Regions from separate parts of the Homo sapiens genome. Here all the other regions are linked to region 1. Evidence: promoter capture Hi-C in human tissues and cell types (Jung and others, 2019). All regions are on one chromosome and are shown on one strand. Each heading gives the region's core, a stretch centred on a gene start or on the middle of the fragment in contact. The rest is flanking DNA. Distances are from core to core; before and after follow the strand shown.

Region 1 (3,551 bases), core at 635-3,134:
CTGGGATTACAGGCATGAGCCACCGTGCCTGGCCCATAAGCACTTTCTGAATGGCTGTCCTATCAGCCTGCCTCCCTGAATGGAGCCTGCTCCTTCCAGGTAATGAACTATCTCCACTTACTAACCCAACCCCAGTTACATAGGATAAAACTGAGGGTCACAAGAGGAGAAGAAACCACCCATGGGTGGGACTGGAATACAGGTCCCTGCCCGGTGGGCCAGGGCGGTTGCCCTTGCTTCAGGCTGAGTTTTGGCATTAGAATGTAAGAGTCCAGCTCCCAAGTAAGATTAAAATAGAAACACAGGCTAGGTGGGGTAGCTCACACCTGTAATCCCAGCTACTCAGGAATTCCTTGAACCCAGGAGCCAGAGGTTGCGTGAGAGGAGACTGCACCACTGCACTCCAGCCTGGGCAACAGAGCAAGACTCTGTCTCAAAAAAAATAAATAAAATAGAAACATAGGCCGGGCACGGTGGCTCGTGCCTGTAATCCCAACACTTTGGGAGGCCAAGGCAGGCTGATCACCTAAGGTCAGGAGTTCGAGACCAGCCTGCCCAACACGGTAATTAGCTGGGTGCGGTGGTGCATGCCTGTAATCCCAGCTACTCTGGGAGGCCAAGGCAGCAGAATCATTTGAACCCAGGAGGCAGAGGTTGCAGTGAGCCAAGATTGTGCCACTGCACTCCAGCCTAGGTGACAGAGAGAGTCTGTCTCAAAAAGAAAAGAAAAGAAACATAATTACCTATGGCTGTTCCTGAAGTCGCCCATGATGTAAGAGGTTTTGTGTGGCTGCCCCCTACAGAGCAGCGGTTGGCAAACTTTTTCTGTGAAGGGCCAGAAAATAAATATTTTAGGCTTTGCAGGCCTCTGTCTCAAGTACTGAATTCTGCTCTTGTAGCAAGAAAGCAGCCCGGGGCAGAACTTAAGCAAATGAGCAAGACTGTGTGACACTAAAACGTTATGTATAAACACTGGAATGTGAATTTCATATGATTTTTCACATGCCATGAAAAGTTCATTCTTCTTTTGATTTTTCCCCTAACCATTTAAAAGACATAAAAACCATACTTAGCTCAAAGGCCGTACAAAAACAATGCCCCCCTGCTTAAAGGAGGCAGAATCCATTCTTTGATTTTAGGACTAGAGATATGAAAAGCTATTATTATTTCAGAGAGGTGCCTAAGGCCTGACCGACGGCAGAGAGAAGGGAGGGTCAGTTAATCTCCCTCTGAGCATTCCGGGGTGAGGAGGGGAAAAAAGACCTTCCTTGGTGATGGATTCAGAGCCCTTATTTATTTTTGTTTGTTTTTGAGGCAGGGTCTTTCTCGTATCTTAATCTGTTTTCTTACCTGTAAAGCGGTGGCAATAATCCCTACCTTGAGCGATTATTAAGAGGGCTCAATGAGATAAAGGATGGTAAAAGATTTTGCAAAATGCGAATGTTTACTCACTTAATTGTTTCCACAGATGCGCGCTTAAGATCGCGCACTGAGTTTACTCCTCTGGGGAAGGCTTCTACGAAGTTTGATGGGACACTGTCCCTTTAAATCCTCCCCAACCACTTAAAGTGGTTGGACGAATCAGCACATGCGCATTCCTTTGAGGGGCCGGCACCTGGAGCAACAGCCTTCCCAGAGCCTGTAGAGGGGAGGTTAAAGGTCCTCCCACACAGTACTTTACGCAAGCGTAAATCATGATTGAGAGCCCTATATCATGCAGAGAGCCCAGTCCCTTTTTCGCGCCCGAAGGCTCCGCCCCGCGCAGCCAATCAGTAGGCCTCGCCCTTTGCAATAGCCAATGACAGTGAGCGTAGGGGGCGTGGCTGGGCGTCCGGAGGCGCGGCCTGGCGCCTAGAGAAGCGGCGGGGCGAGCCGGGGGCTCTAGTGAACAGCGGAGCCGGACGGGGATCGCCGGCGGGCGGCAAGCGGAGGCGGCCCAGGCCCGGCGGTCTCCGAGATGTCACGATGGCTGTGGCCATGGTCAAACTGTGTGAAAGAGCGGGTCTGCCGCTACTTGCTGCACCACTACTTAGGTCACTTCTTCCAAGAGCACCTCAGCCTGGACCAGCTCAGCCTCGATCTGTACAAGGGCAGCGTTGCCCTGCGAGACATCCACCTGGAAATCTGGGTGAGGAGCCAGGCCCGAGTCCAGGAAGGTGCGGAGGGTGGGAGCGCAGCGACCTGAGGCTCCCTGCGGCAGGATCGGGCTGGGGGATCAGGCACCGGGCGTAGAGAGGCCAGGGGAATCTTGCCCTCTCCAGGCGTCAGAGGCACCCCGGCTGGCCTCTTCAGTTCCTTACCAGAGCCAGAAACTGAGCGGGAAGGGGTTTCTGTCTCCACGGGAGGAGAAACTGAGGCTGGAGAGGGCAAGATCACCTGTCTGGAGAATGCAAGACAAACTCGTCGAGTTTGGGGGCTGAGTTAAGGAGGTTGGCTCTCGGGCTGAGGAGGGGCTGGGGAGGGAGCGTAGGAACTGAGCTGGGCCAGGGCAGTGACAGACTTGGGCCTGCGCAGCTGGTGGGGGAAGCTGGTAGGGGTCCGGAGCCCTGGCGAGGACACCTGTGGATCATGTGCCCTGACCTCTTGACCCCACGGTCCTGAGCCCGTAGGTGGGATCAACAAACCACCGGATGTGTATGTCAACAACCGCGTCAGTACGTCAGTACCAGTGTTGATCAACACCTCGTGTGCCTGGGTCGCTGCCTACTTCCTGCTTTTGGGAGAGTGGGATGGGCCAAGTGGGTGTCTAGGGAGGGACTGGATGGCCCCCACCTACATCTCCCACCGACCCCCCCGGCTCAGTGTCCCTGCCTGGAGGGAGGCCCTGGAGGAAAGGTGGGGAGATCTGGCTTCAAGCCGGGAGGAGGCCAAGGGAGATGCTAGGGAGGCCAAGAGGTGTAAGGTCAGAGGCTTGAGGCTGGGAACGGTGAGGAGCCCTGACTCACAGCTCAGCTGACCTGGGGAGCTTTGAAGGAGCCACCAATTAGAGGCGCGTCCTGGTCGATCCACCAGGTCCAGAGCAGCAGGGGTGGGCATGGAGGCAGGGACTTCTCAGTTTTGTGGCTGGACTCAGGGGGCTGCTAATCTGGGCAGAAGAGCTAGGCTTTGGGGGTAGGCCAGGCCCTGGTGAGCAAATGTGGGGTAGGATAATCGTGGGCCCTGAACTGGGGGCACCCCCCAGTGGCCTGCTGTCTGTGAATTCTGGTGTAGGAAGCCCTCTCTGACCTCTAACCTTAGCCTCAGCCTCTAAGGCCGTCTCTAGGCTGCCCCTTTTTTATTTTTATAGAGACAGGATTTCGCTATGTTGCCCAGGCTAGCCTTGAACCCCTGAAGGGATCCTCCCACCTCAGCCTCCCAAAGTGCTGAGATTATAGGCATGAACCACCATACCCAGCCCTAGGCTTCCCCTTTTTACTTTCAGCTCCAGAAAACGCCCCTACTCCTGTTCCCTGCCCTCTTGTTGGGGATTGAATTGGCTTCTCTAGGGCCCTGGTGGAATGCAGGCGCTTTCTTGATAACCAGCCCCTCCTCCCTCCCAGCTCAGCCTGCAG
Region 2 (3,359 bases), core at 62-2,561, 580 kb before region 1:
AAAACAGATACAGTATCAAATTATGACACTTTCCTTGCCCAAATTAATGCACTGGTACACCCAGTGGCTCATATTTAACTTCCCCCAGCTTCCCAATTCAAACTGGGGGGAAAAAAACTAAATCATTGGGAGTTACTTGCCAACTTGGAAGTTGATATTTCTTTACTTTTTCCATTCTAAGACTTTAAGTTCTCTGGCATGAGTTTATCTGCAATCATAAACTAAACAATTACCTAAACCCACCCCACCAATCCCAACCGTAACAGGCCACTGCCAACTAATTGCCAATATTTGCCCCTCCCCTTTAATAAAACTTTTAAGAAGTCACATTATTGGAAAACTTAACTTCAACATTTGGCCTACTCAAGCTCTTCTGAAGTTCTCCTGAGATGACTGAATATGAACCAAAGCTGCACTGTGCTGTACTTTTCAGCTTCAACTGGGAATACTCTTCCAAGGATAAAAGCAGCTCCAGTCCCTGAAGGTGTTCGTGCCAACAGCACAGCGGTACACTCCTTCTCTAACCCAGTTTGTCAATAGTACTATAGCATCTGTGGAAAATCTTAGAAAAAAACATTTTCTCCCCCACCCTCTCTCTTCCCTGTTAAGACCATCCCAAAATGCTTCAAGTAAAAAATAACAAGTTTAAGGGGTTAAGCACTTTTAAAGTCTGATTAAGGGGGTGGGGGGAAAAAAGAGTAACTACCAGCCATTTCTCCAATGGACATCTCTTCCACAGACCTCAACGTGAGAACTGCTCTAGTTTCTATAAACTGTAAACCTGTGGTGGTCTGATTATCCTGATATTGGATTTTCTTGTTTTCTGTTACACCTTGAGTCATTTGCCTTTAGGATTCTAGACAGACCTAAGGGAAAAAGAACTGAAAACATATTTTGCCCCCACCCCCACAAAAAAAAATACTGAAAACTCCCCCCCGCCTCAGTTACACATCCAAACTCTACATTTACAAAACGAATTCAGGGTGAGGAAGTAAAAACAGGTCATCTATTCACAAAACTGAAATACTTCATTACCCCAACTAAACATACAAACTGCTTACAGATTTGCTGAAATTGTCTCAATTTGGCTATCAAATTCATTTGGTTTTCCTCAAATTCGTGTAAAAAAAAAAAACCCACAAACTTGCCATCTACTATTTCTCCAGGACTTGGCAGTCTGCCCTCAAAAGCTTCAGACAAGATTCATGAGTATAAGCCTGAAAAAGAGAAACCTACAACACCCGGAAATCGGCCTACGTCCCCATATAAATCCCTTTACACCTCAGTACGAAACTCCCCCATTATATTAGAAAATAAATAAAAGGTTACCATAAGTAAGTTCCAGAAAAACAACATATTGCCGACCTCACGGATTTTTACCAACCACTCGCTTTCCCTGTGGCCTTGGCACACTGGCATGCTGGTCTAGGATCCTCTACGCACAACGCCTGCTCGCCTCCTCCGTGTGGTTGCCAAGCCAAGCCGCCTGCTACCTTCATCACCAAATTGCACTCGCTCCTTCCTGGAATCCTTTTTCCTAGCTTCACCACCAAATCGTTAGCGCTCCTTCCTTCTTCCTAGCTTCCTTCACCAAATCGCACTGGCTCCTGGACTCTTTTCCTATCTTCACCACGAACTGCTGCTTGCTCGCTTGCTCCTCAGTCCTAGCTTCATCAAACACTGGTTCCTGGAATCCTGTCTGCTGCTGTCTTCCTAGATTCACTGAATCCACTTCTGTGTAGCACCTGGGTCAGCTGTCAATTAATGCTAGTCCTCAGGATTTAAAAAATAATCTTAACTCAAAGTCCAATGCAAAAACATTAAGTTGGTAATTACTCTTGATCTTGAATTACTTCCGTTACGAAAGTCCTTCACATTTTTCAAACTAAGCTACTATATTTAAGGCCTTCCAAATTCTTCTAACTCTTCCAAAAGCCTTCTGCCTTAGTTTTTTTTAAATTACACCAGTCCTTTTAGTAGCTTTTTGATGTGATTTTTAACCAACTTCCCCTTCTAGCTTCAAGTATTCTTCTAAATTGGTTCTGGTCTACGTAAACACCCTCATCTTCTCAAGCTTTACCTTCTAACTTCTGCACCACCAGAAATTAAATTGATGGGCTTTTAAAATAAATTGGTTACCAATAATTTCCTCATTTTTTCAGTGCTATTTTATCCAATTTTTGGCTTTATATTTTTCTATCTTCTATACTTCTCCAATACTTGTCTTAGCTTGTTTTTCATTTTCTATCTGAAACTCTTGACAATATTTTCATTTTCTATCTTGTTTCTATCTTCCAATTTTCTTCTAAGTTTGTACATTTTGCCCTTAGCTTTTTGTTTCCTAGCTTGTCTTTTTTCTTCTGCTTCCTACTTTTCAGGTTTAAATTTATCTTTTTTCTTCTAAAAGTATGTTTTTATCTTCTAATTTCCCTATCTTCTCTATTCTTTTCTTCGCCTTCCCGTACTTCTGTCTTCCAGTTTTCCACTTCAAACTTCTATCTTCTCCAAATTGTTTCATCCTACCACTCCCAATTAATCTTTCCATTTTCGTCTGCGTTTAGTAAATGCGTTAACTAGGCTTTAAATGACGCAATTCTCCCTGCGTCATGGATTTCAAGGTCTTTTAATCACCTTCGGTTTAATCTCTTTTTAAAAGATCGCCTTCAAATTATTTTAATCACCTACAACTTTTAAACTAAACTTTAAGCTGTTTAAGTCACCTTCATTTTAATCTAAAAGCATTGCCCTTCTATTGGTATTAATTCGGGGCTCTGTAGTCCTTTCTCTCAATTTTCTTTTAAATACATTTTTTACTCCATGAAGAAGCTTCATCTCAACCTCCGTCATGTTTTAGAAACCTTTTATCTTTTCCTTCCTCATGCTACTCTTCTAAGTCTTCATATTTTCTCTTAAAATCTTAAGCTATTAAAATTACGTTAAAAACTTAACGCTAAGCAATATCTTAGTAACCTATTGACTATATTTTTTAAGTAGTTGTATTAATCTCTATCTTTCAAAGAGAAAAAAACTTATCTGCGGTTTCCTCAAGCTCCGCCTGCCCCCTCAGCAGAAGCCCCTGCGCTGGCTGCCTCAATGCCTACCGCACAGCTCGGGCGAGGCGTATTTATAGACGGAGAACAACTCGCATCACCGGAATTCGATCACCTTCCGCCGCCTTTGTGAGGGAGGCAAAAAGTAGTTCTTCGGTTAAAAATAGGTTCTAGTTTTACTTTTCTAGATTTTTCTTAACAGCTTATGGAACTTGAATGCAAACTACACATGCAGAAATACTTAAATTACTAGCGTGTGGAAAGATTTGAGCTGCAAACTTTAGACAAAAGAAACATGGAAATCATATT
Region 3 (3,800 bases), core at 1,301-3,800, 720 kb before region 1:
TTAGCTGGGCAAGGCTAGAGGCTGGGCTGTTGGGTCTTGGTCCTGAGGGTCCTGGAGCCTGGGCAGCCCTGGGACTGCCAGGGTCCCCCAGTCGCCACCCACACACCTTAGCTTTGGCCTGGGCCCAGAGTAAGGGTCCCACCAGGACCTAGCCCAACCGGACAGATGACTTGTATTGGCTGGGACGGGAAACCCAGGGGCCACTGGTGTCTGGGTCCTGCCCACTTAACAAAGGGAGGACGTCCTGTCCCCAGAGACCTTCCTCCTTGCCCCTCCCACTTCCTTCAGGGTCCCTGGAGAGCTGATCACCCAGAGAGGTCTGATCTCAGTGCCCTGGACCTCAAGGCCTCAATACCACAAGGACACATGGGTTCCCAGGGAGGCAGCGGCAGGGCAGCAGGAATGGCAAGAGGACTTCCTTCAGCACAGGAAGTAGCCCCAACTGTGGGCCCAGCCCTCTGCCAGGCCCCCACATCCTGAGGAAGGTGCTGGGGTCACAGCAGCTGTCATGGGACCCCAGTCACCCTGCCCTGAAGGACAGGCCAACTCACCTTCTTGCAGGCTACTGTGCCCAGGCTTGGGGGCAAGAGGAGTCACAATGACAGGGACCCATAGGGACCTCTGCCTACCTGGTCTCACTGATGCAGACAGGGAGGTCTGAACCCCATGTGACAGATGGTCAGATGAGGTCCAGAGGAGATGCTCTTGCCTGAAGCAATTCCGTGTCAGAGCTAGGATGTGAGCCTGGGTCTGCCCATCTCCAGGCCCTAAGCAGGGCTGCACCTGCCCACTGCTGTCTGTGTGCGTAGGTTTTGGGGGGTGGGTGTTGGGCTGAGGTTCAAGGTCTCACAGGATGCAAGATTGAGACACCCAAAGCCCCAGGGACCTGCTAAGTGCGGAAACGTGACGCCAGAGGCAGGTGCAAATGGTGGTGTGAGAACTTGAGGGAAGCCACACCCAGGCAAGCCCTGGATGGAGTAGGCAGTGAGGACAGGGAGCTGGGGAACCTCCACTGGGGGTACAGGCATCTAATGGTGGGTCTTCATGCAGCATCCAGCAACATCATGCGGGGCTGGGCCGGAGGGGGGTGGAGGAGGGGCTCCACACACCCTTCGTCTGGGGCCTCCAGAACCAAGCAAGAGTCGGCTCCCCAGCCCAGGTGCTTCTACCTTGATTTCTCCTGAATAAACTCCCATGCTGACCTTGAGCCTCTGTTTTCTCATCTCTAAAATGGGGTTAACTGGCCGGGTGCGGTGGCTGTGGCCTGTAATCCCAGCACTTTGGGAGGCCAAGGCGGGGGGATCACCTGAGGTCAGGAGTTCAAGACCAGCCTAGCTAACATGGTGAAACCCTGTCTCTACTAAAAACATAAAAATTAGCCGGGTGTGGTGGTGCGCACCTGTAGTCCCAGCCACTCAGGAGGCTGAGGCAGGAGAATCGCTTAAACCTGGGAGGCAGAGGTTGCAGTGAGCCGAGATCGCGCCACTGAACTCCAGCCTGCGGGACAGAGTGAGACTGTCTCCAAAAAAACAAAGAAAAAAATTGGGTTTAATTATTTCTGTCCCCTCCCAAGGCTGCTGAGAGACTGAGAAGAATGAGGTGAGTGTCGCTAGCTATGTGTGTGTGTGACGGGTGTAGCCCCTGGCTCCATGAGCCAAGCTCTGGGCACATTCAGCGCTCGGGCCTGGGCTATAGTGTGTGAAGGAGTAGGAGGGCATGAGGGAGGGGGTCTGTGCAAGCCCCGCTCCTTGTGGGCTGAGCTCTGCACGCTTGGAAGTGAGATCTGTGCATGTGTGCACCCAGCCTGTGCGCTGCCTCTTGCTGTGGCCCAGTGCCAGGCTCTGGCGCTGCCTTGAGGGGTGTTCTCGGGCTCTGCCCCCCACCCTGAAGCTTCACACAGGGTCCATTGAGGCTAGGACATTCCTCCGGGCCTGTGTCACTAGGGGTGGGGGGAAAGGGCCGGCCCCGCCCCCACAGATCCGGAAGGCCTGGCTGCCCCAGGAGGAGGAGCTGGCCACTTCCCAGCACATCTGGAGGTCATGACCCCATTTCGGCTGCCAGGGGGCGCGACAGATGTTTCCTCCCAGGCCAGGCCAGGGACTGGGGTGGAGGCCGCCTAAGAAGAAGAGGAGCCTCAGAATAAGGGGGAGCCCCGCACACACTTGCAGTGTTGAGGGGGAGGGGGTCACAGTGCCGCCACCAGGAGTCAGGAGCCGCCGCTTCCACTCACCGGCTGGCTGGCCAGGCTAAGCCGTCACACAGAGAGAGTAGGAACGGCTGGTCAGAGACAGGGGGCTGGACATATTGACTCGGGACTGAGCTGGAGCCCGGAGGGAAGTTGGGAGGGTGCTGGCGGCGAACGTGGCGAGGACCCCACTCCCATACACATCACCCGGGCCCACGGCTAGGCCACCTCTCCCCTGTCGGGCCCGACAGTAGTGCCTCCCGTCCCCTGCTCCCGCCAGTACCTCTGGGGCTCCCGCCCAGCCGCCGCCGCCCGCGCTGGGGTCCCGCTGCCGCTCTCCCGCTACCGCTCCCGGCGCCGGCTCCGCCTGGGGGCGGGGCCATGCTGGGAGGCGGGGCCATGCCGGGAGGCGGGGCCGGCCGGGAGCTGTCTGCGGCGGGAAGCGCAGCAGCGGGGATTCCAGGCCTGGCGGAGGTCAGCACCGAGCAGTGCTCATTCTAAGGCCATTTCCTCTCCTGAGAAACTTGTGCCTGCCTTCCAGACCAACCGGGAGGGCTAGCGGAGGCCACCTAGCGTCCAGCTCCCGGCCAGCAGGTGCTCAAGAGTCTGCCACTATTTTATGGAGCACTTGCTAAGCACTGGGCCCTGGGCAACCATTCCACTAGCGCGCTCTCATTTATTCTAAAAACACCTTAGATAGGTGTCATCTCTTTACGCCCTGGAGCAGCTGAGGTGCAGAGAAAGGCTTTGGCCAAGAACAAGCCTGATAAATGTAGGAGCCACCAGACCTGGAAGTCTGACCATATGGTGGGAAATGGCAGACAATACCCTTCAGATAAAGGCTTGAAAAGGGAGCAGCCATGCGGTGAAGAGGACCCGGTTCTACCTGAACCCCACCTTGGTCTGCCCTTGATCTCTACTAGACTTCAGCCCCACATCCTTCACCCCTCTGCGTGCTTGTCCATCCCAACTTAGCCGCCTGTACTATCATGTACCCATTCCCAGGTAGAAAAAGAAACTGCCAACCAAAATCAAAAATAGTGTTATTAATTCTGATGTCTCCGAAGCACAAAAAAAAAAAAAAAAAAGAAAAGAAAAAAAAGGAAAGAAAGAAACCACCCTTCCCACAATTCAGGCCCCAGGTCCAGGCCAAGGGGGCCACACCTGCAGGCAGTGCAGGCCCAGGGGCTGAGGTGGTCCTGGCCACAGGCTCCAAGTGGGACCAGCCCATGGTTTGGCTCTTAGGGCCTGGCTGGGAGGCTGACTGCCTCCATCTGGGGAGCCCAGGCCCTGGACTGGGGATGAGAGAGATCAGGGGTCAAGGTCAGAGGTCTGGGTCACTCAGTTTTGGTACTCTGGCCAAGGCAGCCAAAGGTCAGGGTTCAGACATGTAGGCCAAAGCCACTCAGTTCTGTGGTCCAGCAGAGAGGCAGCAGAGCAGGTCCGTTACTGAATCCTAGGAGGTGGTCCAGTGGGCGCCAGGTAGCTCAGTACTGGTGTTCCAGCAGGGGCTGGGCTGCCGGGCTCTCACGCTCCTCAATAGGGGCAGGCCAGTCGCCCAGGGCACCCATAGGTGTGCCACTCTCAGGGGCACTGCTGTCCAAGCAAGGAATGT

The links. The method cuts DNA at HindIII sites, captures the fragments that hold promoters and counts their contacts. A contact is called where the count stands out against the background at its distance.
Region 2: a fragment that was not itself captured here is called in contact with the fragment with the promoter of ATG2A in region 1 in 1 of the 25 tissues and cell types used here (dorsolateral prefrontal cortex).
Region 3: a contact is called between the fragment with the promoter of SIPA1 here and the fragment with the promoter of ATG2A in region 1, in 1 of the 25 tissues and cell types used here (spleen).

Annotation. Positions count from the first base shown.
Region 1 is chr11:64,915,542-64,919,092 of GRCh38, reverse strand. It overlaps ATG2A (autophagy related 2A), which reads left to right and starts at 1,884. Exons shown (of 41, transcript NM_015104.3): 1 at 1,884-2,128. The coding sequence starts at 1,958. It also overlaps a transcript of PPP2R5B not described here. RefSeq lists an enhancer at 1,483-1,612 and a silencer at 1,663-1,972. The HindIII fragment of the contact is 28,686 bases long and covers 1-3,551 here.
Region 2 is chr11:65,498,785-65,502,143 of GRCh38, reverse strand. It overlaps MALAT1 (metastasis associated lung adenocarcinoma transcript 1), which reads right to left and starts at 3,099. Exons shown (of 1, transcript NR_002819.5): 1 at 1-3,099. It also overlaps TALAM1. RefSeq lists enhancers at 1,576-1,705, 3,209-3,288, 3,339-3,359. The HindIII fragment of the contact is 4,315 bases long and covers 1-3,359 here.
Region 3 is chr11:65,636,851-65,640,650 of GRCh38, reverse strand. It overlaps SIPA1 (signal-induced proliferation-associated 1), which reads right to left and starts at 2,550. Exons shown (of 16, transcript NM_006747.4): 1 at 2,469-2,550. It overlaps PCNX3 (pecanex 3), which reads right to left. Exons shown (of 35, transcript NM_032223.4): 35 at 3,212-3,800. The coding sequence ends at 3,673. RefSeq lists enhancers at 1,918-1,987, 2,939-3,729 and a silencer at 2,338-2,707. The HindIII fragment of the contact is 7,218 bases long and covers 1-3,800 here.